2 separate regions of the Homo sapiens genome follow, and region 2 is linked to region 1. Evidence: promoter capture Hi-C in human tissues and cell types (Jung and others, 2019). All regions are on one chromosome and are shown on one strand. Each heading gives the region's core, a stretch centred on a gene start or on the middle of the fragment in contact. The rest is flanking DNA. Distances are from core to core; before and after follow the strand shown.

Region 1 (6,186 bases), core at 410-2,909:
ACAGTCTTGGCTCACTGCAACCTCCGCCTCCCGGGTTCAAGTGATTCTCCTGCCTCAGTCTCCCAAGTAGCTGGTATTACAGGCACGTGACACCACCCCCAGCTAATTTTTGTATTTTTAGTACAGACAGGGGTTTCACTATGTTGGCCAGGCTGGTTTCTAACTCCTGACCTAAGGTGATCCGCCCGCCTCGGCCTCCCAAAGTGCTGGGATTATAGGCATGAGCCACGGCGCCCGGCCAATTTTATTTTATATTTATCTTATTTTATTTTATTTTAGAGTCGAAGTCTCGCTCTTGTTACCCAGGCTGGAGTGCGGTGGTGCTATCTTGGCTCACTGCAACCTCTGCCTCCCGGGTTCAAGCGATTCTCCTGCCTCAGCCTCCTCAGTAGCCGGGATTACAGGTGCATGTCACCACACCCGATTAATTTTTGTATTTTTAGTAGAGACAGGGCTTCACCATGTTGGTCAGGCTGGTCTCGAACTCCTGATCTCATGATCCACCCGCCTCGGCCTCCTAAAGTGCTGGAATTACAGGTGTGAGCCACCGCGCCCAGCCTTTTTTTTTTTTTTTTTTTTTTTTTTGAGACGAGAGTCGCACTGTGTTGCCAGGCTGGAGTGCAATGGCGTGTCCTTGGCTCACTGCAACTTCCACCTCCCAGGTTCAAGCGATTCTCCCGCCTCAGCCTCCAGAGTAGTTGGGATTACAGGCGTGTGCCACCACACCCAGCTAATTTTGGTATTATTAGTAGAGACCTCCGCAGGTCCTCTGGCCTCTCCAGACCTCAGTTTCCCCAACTATAAAATGGGGAGAGCAGCCATGCGCCATGGCTAACCAAAGACGGTGTCGCCAGGAACTTAGGAAAAGCTCAGTAAACTGGGTCATCATCACTACATTCCTGGGTCAAAGCTCCCTTGGATCCAAATGGTGGTTCTGGCTGCTTGGAACCCATTACCTCCTCGACAGCTCCCTCTCACTTCAACTTCGGATGAGAAGGGAAAAGGGACGCGAGTGACCAGGGCCAAGGGCAAGAGCAGTCCCCGAAGCAGGAGTGAGGGCAGAGAACAGGGCCCAGGGCGGGACCGGGGCGGAGAGGAAGCGTCAGGACCCCCAGGGTGGGGGGCGAGGGTTGGGAGCCCCTGAGATGAAGGGCGAGGGCCGGAGCTGAGGTGGGGTGGGGTCCCTCAGGGTGTCGGAGGAGGGTCGGGAGCCAGGAGGTGGAGGGCGAGAGCGGGGCCCGAGGCGGGGCCGAGTGGAAGGGTCAGGACCTCCGAGGTGGGGCGGAGGGACAAGGGTCGGGACCCCTGAGGTGGACGGCGAGGACCGGGGCTGAGGTGGGGTGATGGGCAGGGGCTGGGCCAGGGCCAGGCCGGGATCCGGTCGCGGTCAGGCTCCGGGACTGGAAGGGGAAGGCCGGCCAGGCGCCCGCGGCAGACGCCCACACCCCACAGGCCACGTGTGGCCTGGACGCCTGGGACGGCGGAGGCGCTCCGGTGGCGCCCTGAGCTGCTCAGTTACCAGAGCCGTTGGGGCCGATGATGCAGGTGAACCTCCGGAAGGGGCCAATGACCTGGCGGCCCCGCCACGACTTGAAATTTTCCACAAGCAGCAGCTCCAGGTGGGCCATGGCGCCGCCCTCCACGCCTCACCCGCGTTATCAAGCGCCCGCGGAAAAAGCGCGGGAAGGGATTCGCCAAGTGTCGCGAGAAGAGAGCGAGACGCGGCAAGCGCGGAGCCGTTCCTTAGCAACGAGTTGTTGACATTTCCGAGAGAGCGGGAGCGTCTGTACCTCTGCGGCGTCACTGGGAGCCCGACGGAAAACTGCGCTAAAGGCTTGTCTTTCCCCTGCCCGACCGAAGGAGCCGACCTTGCCTGCGCTACAGCTTCCTTATTTTCGTCGCCTGTTCTCCTGATCCTGCGTGTTCTAAAAACCCCTTAGGCTTTCCATGGGTTCCCAGACCATGGCGGTGGCGCTGCCCAGGGACTTGCGGCAGGACGCCAACCTGGCAAAGAGGAGGCACGCGGAGCTGTGCAGGCAGAAGCGGGTCTTCAACGCCAGAAACAGGATAATTGGGGTGAAAGGGCAGGGGCCGGGACGGGGTTAGAGCGGCAGATGCGGGCGAGGGGCTGCGTGGAGGGGGAAAGGAGATGAGTTCTAGGATGAAACATCTGAGCCAGGAGGCAGCAAACGGCCTCCTGCAGGGCCAATAATGCTCCCTCTCGAGCTCGCCTGGAGTCACCAACGGTTCTCCTCCCCTGAGCCAGATTTTCTACAACTCGTTTACAGTGGGGCAGAGATTAAAAATAATAATAAGTAGGATTGTTATTACTGAATAAAATGATCTGGCTCTAACCCTTCTCCTCTGTTTTTCCATTTATAGGGAGACACTGAAGCCTGGGATGTTCAAGTTCATGACCAGAAGATAAAAGAAGCTACTGAAAAAGCTAGACATGAAACCTTTGGTGAGCATTTCCTGAATGCTTATCTATTGGTTTAGGATTGTGTGGCTTTAGACTCCAGTCTTCCCCACCGTCCCCCTGCCCCGCCTTTTTTTTTTTATTTTTTATTTTTTTTATTTAATAGAGATAGGGTCTCACTATGTTGCCCAGGCTGGTCTGGAACTCCTGCGTGCAAGTGATCCTCCCACGTCAGTCTCCCAAAGTGCTGGAACTACAGGCATGAGCCACGGTACCCAGCCCTCCTTTCTTCACATATATAAAAAGTTGTCATTTTCACACTCTTCTTCCTTTTAAATTTCACAATTTCTTGTGCCCAGTTAACTTAATGCACTGATTCTTCTCTTAAAAACAGCTATTGAATTCGAATGTGGATTATAAGAAATAGATTTTAAGGGTATATGTATGTTTTCCTTCATTTTCTTAAAAAACTGGATAGGAAAAGCCTTAAACACAGAAAGACACACACACACACTCACTTGCTCTGCTCAAAAGTTTAAGACCGTCTATGAAGGACAGCTGTTTATACCAGACAACACATATGTCCGGGCTCACACCCTCAAGCTGACTCAGAGACAGACATGATTCAAATCATAGTATTCAAGTACCTTGAATACTGTTATTCAAGGTATTATTATTCCACTTCAAATACAACTTATTTTCCCCTATCGTGTCCAACAATTTCAACAATTGTTGAAATTTCACACTTTGAGAGGCTAAAACTAGAGGATCACTTGAGACCAGGAGCTCCAGACTTGCCTGGGCAACAAAGCGAGACCCCATCTCTACAAAAAATAAATTGAAAAAAAAAAAAAAAAGAAATTTCAGTGTTTTTAAACACCATAAAGATTTTTATAATAGAAAAAAAAGCAGGATACAAAATTGTACATACAATGGGCTGTTATGTTTTTAAAATATTTTAAAATATGCTCAGAAGAAGAAGAGAGGAAATATGCCAAAATGTTAGCAGGGTAATGTTGGAGGGATAGAATTATGAGTAAACTTTATTTTCTCCTTTATACTGTTCTGTATGTTCTAAACATTTTATCTTTTTTATTAATATTTTTAGTTATGAGGTAATTCAATCTTACAAAAACAATGTGACAGGTACATATGTACCCACCATCAGACTAGATGTTAACATTTTGCCAGATTGGCTTCAGATATCTTCAGTGTTTTTTGAGAATTGTGTTTTTTATATATGTGTATATATATATATATATATATAACAACACTGCCCTGCCCCCTACCTCTTAATTTTCCCCTCCTTTCTCCTCAGAAGTGTTTATCATTCCCATGCTTTTTTTTCTATTTTCTTTTGAGATGGAGTCTTGCTCTGTCTTCCAGGCTGGAGAGCTGTGGCGCGATCTCAGCTCACCGCAACCTCCGCCTCCTGGGTTCAAGCAATTCTCCTGTCTCAGCTTCCCGAGTAGCTGGGATTACAGGTGCACACCACCATGCTGGGCTGATTTTTGTATTTTTAGTAGAGACGAGGTTTCACCATGTTGGCCAGGCTGGTCTCGAACTCCTGACCTCAGGTGATCTTCCCGCCTCTGCCTCCCAAAGTGTTGGGATTACAGGCATGAGCCACCAGGCCCAGCCCCCACGCACTATTTATGCTTGTACTATTTATGTATGTATTCATAACAATATAAAATTGTTTTTATGTGTTTTTAAAATTTATGTAAATGGTATCCTATTGAATAGATCCATTTGCAGTATGCTTTTCTTTCATCCAGGCTTGTATTTTTGAAATTAATCAGTGATTTACATATAGAGAGTATTCATTTTAATTGTTTTATGGCATTTTGTTATATGAATTAACTACAGTTTCTTCATCCATTCCCATACTGATGGCTGGTTTAGATTTTTTTTTTTCAGTTGTTTTGTCATTGTGGACACTGCTGCAATGACTGTCCAAGAATTGTGTCCCTAGCACATGTGAAAGGGATAACTAGAAGTGGAATTGATGGATCAAAGGTAGTTTTATGGGATATTGAAAAATTGTTTCGTTGTAAGTGTACCAAGTTACACTCCTACAAGCAGCAAATGAGAGGTTTTTGTTTTGTTTTGTTTTGTTTTTGAGATGGAGTCTTGCTCTGTCACCAGGCTGGAGTTCAGTGGAGCGATCTCGGCTCACTGCAACCTCTGCCTCCCGGGTTCAAGCGATTCTCCTGCCTCAGCCTCCCAAGTAGCTGTGACTATAGGCACGTGCCACCAAGCCCAGCTAATTTTTGTATTTTTAGTAGAGACGGGGTTTCACCATCTTGGCCAGGATAAGCTCTATCTCTTGACCTTGTGATCCGCCCACCTCGGCCTCCCAAAGTGCTGGGATTACAGGCGTGAGCCACCATGCCTGGCCGCAAATGAGAGATCTTGTTTCCCCACATCCTTACTAATGTGTGCCATTATTAGCATTTTAAATATTTTGCCTTCGATTCATTGGATGTTTCCCACCTTGTATGGGTGATCATCCTTTCATAATTGTATTGATTACTCAGGTTTTTTTTTTTTTTTTTTTTGAGACAGAGTCTCATTCTGTAACCCAGCCTGGAATGCAGCGGCGTGATCTTGGCTCGTAGCAACCTCTGCCTCCTGGGTTCAAGCGATTCTTTTGCCTCAGCCTCCCGAGTAGCTGGGACTACAGGCTCCTGCCACCACGCCCGGCTAATTTTGAATTTTTAGTAGAGACAGGGTTTCACCATGTTGGTCAGGCTGGTCTTATACTCCTGATCTCAGGTGATCCGCCCACCTCGGGCTCCCAAAGTGTTGGGATTACAGGTGTGAGCCACCACACCCAGCCTCAGGTTTCTTTATAGTGATCTGCCTGGCCGTTCCTACACTTTGCCCATTTATTGGGTTGGGGTTTTGGGGTTTTTTTAATTGATTTGTAGGTACTCTTTGTATATTCAGGATACTAATCCTTTAATGGCTGTGTTACTTTTTTGGAGGGTTGTATTACTTTTGCAATCACTGAAAAAATTAGTTTTTAAAGTAGATTCATGGGCTGGGTTCAGTGGCTCACTTCTATAATCCCAGTGACTCAGGAGGCTGAGGCAGAAAGATGGTTGGAGGCCAGGAGACCAGCCCAGGCAACATAATGAGGCCCTATCTCTAAAAAAGTAAATAATAAAAAATAAAATGGATTCAAATTTATTTTTTCCTCTGAATCCTAAGCTTATGGATATGCTGTATCTCTTCCAGCTGCTGAAATGAGGCAAAATGACAAAATCATGTGCATATTGGAAAACCGGAAAAAGAGGGATAGGAAAAATCTCTGTAGGGCTATCAATGACTTCCAACAGAGCTTTCAGAAGCCAGAAACTCGCCGTGAATTTGATCTGTCCGACCCCCTAGCCCTTAAGAAAGATCTTCCAGCCCGGCAGTCAGATAATGATGTTCGGAATACGATATCAGGAATGCAGAAATTCATGGGAGAGGATTTAAACTTCCATGAGAGGAAGAAATTCCAAGAGGAACAAAACAGAGAATGGTCTTTGCAGCAGCAAAGGGAATGGAAGAACGCCCGTGCTGAACAAAAATGCGCAGGTAATGAAACAGAAGAGACGAGCTGGTCTCAACGCTCTCTTCAACAAACCAACCCTACAGTTTTTTTTTTTTTTTAAGCAACCCTACAGTTTTTTTTTTTTTTTAAGCAACCCTACAGTTTTTGTGGGATTTGTTTAAAGTCCTACCAATGTGCACAGACAGCCACATGCTACTTTGGC
Region 2 (6,432 bases), core at 928-3,427, 47 kb before region 1:
TTTATTTAACAGATGAGAAGACCAAGGAACAGAGAGCTAAGCAACTTGCCCAAGGCTACCCACTTAGTGGTAGAGCCAGGGATGACACACTCAGACAGGGGGACAACAGAATCCCTGCTCTTAATCCGTGACCACACTGCCTGTAGGAGAGCTTAAGAAATTTATTTGTGCTGCAGGAGGCAGACATACAGATGATGTAGAAGTGGAACGCTTCTTCACTTGGCTTTGGGGTGTCACATTACCCTGGCTTTCCTTTCCCCCAACTAGCTGCTCTTTTAATGGTTCTTTCTCATCTCTTCGACTTGCTAACATCTTGTAGGATCTCTTTTCCTTTTTTTTTTTTTTTTTTTTTTTTTTTTTTTGAGATGGAGTCTCGCTCTGTTGCCCAGGCTGGAGAGCAGTGGCACGATCTCGGCTCACTGCAAGCTCCGCTTCCCGGGTTCACGCCATTCTGCTGCCTCAGCCTCCCAAGTAGCTGGGACTACAGGCACCTGCCACCACGCCCGGCTAATTTTTTGTATTTTTAGTAGAGACATGGTTTCACCGTGTTAGCCAGGATGGTCTCGATCGCCTGACCTCGTGATCCGCCCACCTCAGCCTCCCAAAGTGCTGGGATTACAGGCATGAGCCACCGCACCCGGCCGGATCTCTTCTCCTTTCTATCCACATTCATTCCGTTGTTGCTCTTGTGTAGTTACATGACTTCAAGTGCCATTTATATACGGACATTCCCAAAATTTATACCTCTAGCCTGGGCCTCGCCTTTGAACTCCTAACTTGTGTATTCAGCTACCCATTCTATACCTCTAACTGGATATCACAGACATCACAAACTCAGTACCTAGAATACACAGTGAATAAGCCACTAGAAGTAACAGAGGATTTAGCAAAGTTACTAGATGTTAGATCAATCTAAAATTTGAGATTAGGCCGAGCATGGTGGCTCACACCTGTAATCCCGGGCACTTTGGAAGGCTGAGGTTGGCAGATCGCTTGATCCCAGGAATTGAAGACCAGCCTGGGCAACATGGCAAAACCCCATCTCTACAAAAAATACAAAAATTAGCTGGGCATGTTGGCACACACCTGTGGTCCCAGCTACTTGGGAGGCTGAGGTAGGAAGATCACTTGAGCCCAGGAGGCAGAGGTAGCAGTGAGCCAAGATTGTGCCACTGCACTCCAGCCTGGGTTGACAGAGTGAGACCCTGAATTAATAAAGATAAAATAAAATTTGAGATTATTTTTCTACACTAGTAGAAACCAACTAGCAAAAGCATCATAAAAACACATACTATTCACAAGAAAAAAATAAACCCTATAATTATCTAGAAATTAATAAGAAAACATAGATCTCTATGGGAAAAAACTCCAAAATTCTAATAAAGGATATAGATGATTAGAATAAATGGAGAGACATTCTATGTTTTTAGATGGGATGACAATATTTTGAAGGTATCAATTCTCCACAAATCTATCAATCCAATGCAATCTCAATTAGAATTCCATTTTGGTTGTTTTTTGGGTTTGTTTGTTTGTTTGTTTGTTTTTGAGACAGAGTCTCCCTCTGTCACCTAGGCTGGAATCTGGTGGAACGATCTTGGCTCACTGCAACTTCTGCCTCCCAGGTTCAAGCAATTCTCTTGCCTCAACCTCCTGAGTAGCTGGGACTACAGGCATGTGCCACCACGCCCAGCTAATTTTTGTATTTTTAGTAGAGATGATGTTTCGCCATGTTGCCCAGGCTGGTCTCAAACTCCTGAGCTCAGGTGATCCGCCTGCCTCGAGCTCCCAGATTGTTAGGATTACAGGTGTCAGCTACCATGTCCAGCCTCCAGTTGGATTTTTGTGAGAACCTCAATAAACATTGTAATAGGCAGAATTATTTAGAAAGCAAGTCTAAATAAGAGGTCCAGGCTAAAGGTACAAATTTTGGGAATGTCAGTATATAAATGTTACTTAAAGTCATATAACTAGACAAGTTCAAAGTTTACCTCAGAAGAAGAAATATGACAAGGTTAAAGAGGGGGCATTTTATGATGATGAATTAATTCATCAAAAAGACAGTGATCCCAAATATGTATGCACCTAATAACAAGGCTTGAAAATACATTAAGTAAAATCTGGCTGGGTGTGGTGGCTCACACCTGTAATCCCAGCACTTTGGGAGGCCGAGGTGCATGGATCACCTGAGGTCAGGAGTTTGAGACTAGCCTGGCCAACGTGGCAAAACTCCAAAAAACTAAGTGCTGGGATTACATGCATAAGCCGCTGCACTCAGCCACAGATAATTCTTAGATTTGCTCTTGAGATAATTTTCTATATCTTGTAGGCATTCTTCATTCCTTTCATTCTTTTTTTCTCTTCTGTCTTTTCCTGTAGCCTATCTTCAGGCTTACTGATTCTTTCCTCTGCTTGATCCATTCTGCTGTTAACAGCCTCTAAGGAATTTTCCAGTTCAGCAAATGTATTTATCAGTTCCAGCATTTCAATCTCTTTGTTAAGCTTCTCCGATAAATTTCTGAGTTGCTTTTCTGTTATTTTGGAGATCACCAAGTTTCCTTAAAACTTCTATTTTAAGTTCTTGATCAGAGAGCTTGCCTACTAGTCTCACTAGGCTCAGTTACTGGCTCCTTGCTTTGTCTGTTTTGGGAGGTCATGGTTCCCCGTTTGCTATTGTTTCTTGTGGATGTACATCTATCTCTTCACATTAAAGGATTATCTCTGTCTGGCTTGTTTTTGTTTTTTTATTTGGTATGTTTGCTTAGAAATTTGCAATATACCTGTTGGGTACCTTTTCTTTTTTCCCCGCTGATAGGCTCACTGCCTGCTTTTTGGCACCAGGTGATGCCTTAAGCTCAGGTTTGCTTCAGCTCCAGCAAACTTTGGAGCGTTGCCTATCTTGCATGGGGGAGATCCTAAAGGGGATATCCTGACAATTTGGGAAGGCTGGCTACAGGCTGGTGCCCAGGGGACCTATGGAACCTACCTCTGTGTGGTGTTGCTGTGTGATGCTGCTGAACAGCCACTCTAATTTGGTGTCTCCTTTGACCAAGTTACACAGCAGAGTTTCCTGGACTGGGGATGCTAGTCCTGCTTCACTGCTTTGTCTGTCGGTCCTCAGGAACTTTTCTCCCTTCAGTGATACTTCCTATGGGCTGAGGCAGGGACAGGCCCCTTGCCAGGGAACCCAAGATGGTGAGGAAGCTGGTTGTCCACCTTGATCTCACTCTTTCCAGGGTAGTAACCACGAGTCAGGGGAAATTTTTCTGCACACTTGGTGCCTGACATATTGGGATAAGGGCACCACAGATGTAAGTCCAATTCTCTTATTGTCTGCAAGATTTTTCACTTCTCTGTGGCTTCAGGAACTGTCTCATTCTTGTTTTTGAATTCTGGGATATTGCTGGTGACAATCTCAGCACTGTATATTTGTTTATGGTTTTCTCTGGGAAGCAGTGAAGCCAGCTTGATTCTATTCTGACATTTTGGTGATGTCACTGCCAAATTTGTATACTTTATTTTTCTTGTCTAACTTTATTGACTAGTATCTCTAGAATAATATTAGATAATAGTGATACTGAGTATCTCTAATTTCTGACATTACTAGGAAGTGAAACCATGAAACCACAATGCTGATTTCTGAGATGTATTTTTTCATATCATAGGTATCTTAACTATTCACATCTTAAGAATATTCAACCAAGAATAAATGCTGAATTTTGTCAAGTGTTTTTTCATCATCCTTAGAGTTGATCATATGATTCTTTCTTAATATGGTGAATTAAACAATAGATTTCCTGATACAGAACCATCCTTATAGTTCTGATATAAAGCCCACTAGATAATGGTACATTATTTTGTTGTTGTACTGCTGATTTGTATTTAACCTTGTTTTACTTGGTTATTTATAGGTGACATTGATTTACAGTTTCTTATTGTATGTATACTTTTTTGAATTTTGGAATCAGTATTATGTTCCTTTCATAAAAAGATGCATTTTTTCCTCTTCTACATTCTGAAATAGTTTTTTTTTTTTTTTTCTGAGACCGAGTCTCGCTCTGTCACCCAGGCTGGAGTGCACTGGCATGATCTCGGCTCACTGCAATTTCTGCCTCCTGGGTTCAAGCAATTCTCTGCCTCAGCCTCCAAAGGAGCTGGGATTACAGGCACCCACCACCACGCCTGGCTAATTTTTGTATTTTTAGTAGTGATGGGGTTTTACCATCTTGGCCAGGCTGGTCTTGAACTCCTGACCTCATGACCCACCTGCCTCGGTCGGCCTCCCAAAGTGTTGGAATTACAGGCGTGAGCCACCACACCTGGGCTGAAACAGTTTTAATATTGAACATCTGTTTAGACATTAAACACTGAAGTTACATGTGCCTTTAAAGTCTGCTGAGATAATTCACCTGTGAAGCTATCTGTACCTGGTGTATTTGGCAATGGGGTGGGTAGGAAGCCTTTTTACTTTCTCTTCCTATTGTAACTGGCCATCTTAGATTTTTCTATCTTGAGATAATTTTTGGTAATATATTATTTCTTGAAAATTACCACTTACTATCTACATATATGAATATTTACAGACAAGCAAATTATTGTCTCATTCTTTTGTTTTTTTTTTTGAGACGGAATCTTGCTCTGTCGCCCAGGCTAAGTGCAGTGGCACGATCTCGGCTCACTGCAAGCTCCACCTCCCAGGTTCATGCCATTCTCCTGCCTCAGCCTTCCGAGTAGCTGGGACTACAGGCGCCTGCCACCATGCCCAGCTAATTTTTTGTATTTTTAGTAGAGACGGGGTTTCACCGTGGTAGCCAGGATGGTCTCTATCTCCTGACCTCATGATCCGCCTGCCTCGGCCTCCCAAAGTGCTGGGATTACAGGCATGAGCCACTGCACCTGGCCTATTGTCTTATTCTTTTAATAACCAGTATACGTGTAATTATGCCCCTATTCTCTTATTTTGTGTATTTATGCTTTCTCTCTTTAAAAAATTATGGAACAAAAAAGTTAGATCTCTTTGTAAGAATATAAATTTTTACTAGCTGTTTCTTTTTTTTTTTTTTTTTTGAGATGGAGTCTCGCTCCATCGTCCAGGCTGGAGTGCAGTGGCGCAATCTCCGCTCACTGCAAGCTCCGCCTCCTGGGTTCACACCATTCTCCTGCCTCAGCCTCCCGAGTAGCTGGGACTACAGGCACCTGCCACCACGCCTGGCTAATTTTTATTGTATTTTTAGTAGAGACGGGGTTTCACCATGTTAGCCAGGATGGTCTCGATCTCCTGACCTCGTGATCCGCCTGCCTTGGCTTCCCAAAGTGCTGGGATTACAAGCGTAAGCCACCGTGCCCGGCCTAGCTGTTTCTTGATGAAATGAAACTCAGGCATAATTCCTCTAAATTATGAAATAATAACTATTTTTATAAATATGTAAGCTCCTTACCAACATCTTTTTATAAAAATACCTTTTTTGATCAATTTCTTGTTGCCGTTTAACATGTTTGTTCTCAAATTCACGAATATTTTCCACGCCAATTTCTTCACAGAAGTGTTGGAAGATATCGTCTTCTACCTTTTAAATTATTTTAAAACAATTGATTTAATAAGCAATTTTAAGAAATATATAATCTTAAATATGTTTTTCCCTCCAAGATTTTCCTGAATTAGGCCAAAAACTAATCCCACCAAGCATTACTGTATTCTGAGAAGCCAGTACTTTTTTTTCCTTTAATTCCATAAATTATGCCATCTACTTTCAAATTTCTTATTCAAAAAAACTAAGAAAGATCATAATTGGCCTTATTAAGTGCTTTGGCTTTATGAATGTTTAGTATAAAACTGGAAGAATTCCTTTTACTTTAGACCCACAAAAATATTACATTCTACATAAATAAAGGAAAGATTCTTTATGTATGAGTAATACAATAGCACCTTTGCCAGTATAGTAACAAGTGGAATGGGGCATAGAATTAAGAATGAAAAAGACTTGGAAAAGCTAGAATGGGGAAATTCAACAAAGTAAAATTTAACCTCAATGTTTTAAAGCTCTCATTTTATGTATAATTATAGGATGAGAAAGAACTATTTTAAGAACAGGACATTTTTAAAAACTTTCAGATTTTAGTTGAATATACATTAAATATGAATGTGGTATGACTGACGCAGTAGTAAGCTACAGTTAGCATGACTAGATAATCCAAGTCATGGAAAGTTACAGTTATAAACATACAGACCCACAATATGCTGTACAGACAATATTTTGACATCATGCTCTGTTCAGGGGCATTGATAACATCCAGAGGATGGTTACCAGAGCTGGTCTTAAATCCATGGTAATGTGAAATGAATAAAGAAACTAGGGATATTTAACCTGGAAAAGAGATAACTAATTAGGAAGTAACGTAAGTGTGGTTCCAAATCGTGGTAAACGTCAGGCC

The links. Contacts are between HindIII fragments. The study calls those that stand out against the background at their distance.
Region 2: a contact is called between a fragment that was not itself captured here and the fragment with the promoter of SMC1B in region 1, in 1 of the 25 tissues and cell types used here (IMR-90 fibroblasts).

What each region holds. Positions count from the first base shown.
Region 1 is chr22:45,411,940-45,418,125 of GRCh38, forward strand. It overlaps SMC1B (structural maintenance of chromosomes 1B), which reads right to left and starts at 1,660. Exons shown (of 25, transcript NM_148674.5): 1 at 1,520-1,660. The coding sequence starts at 1,628. RIBC2 (RIB43A domain with coiled-coils 2) reads left to right here and starts at 1,754. Exons shown (of 7, transcript NM_015653.5): 1 at 1,754-2,076; 2 at 2,383-2,464; 3 at 5,663-6,007. The coding sequence starts at 1,948. RefSeq lists an enhancer at 1,743-2,576. The HindIII fragment of the contact is 17,180 bases long and covers 1-6,186 here.
Region 2 is chr22:45,364,494-45,370,925 of GRCh38, forward strand. It overlaps SMC1B (structural maintenance of chromosomes 1B), which reads right to left. Exons shown (of 25, transcript NM_148674.5): 15 at 5,461-5,567. Among named protein-coding and RNA genes, the nearest start is that of SMC1B, 46 kb to the right of the region's middle. The HindIII fragment of the contact is 7,660 bases long and covers 1-6,007 here.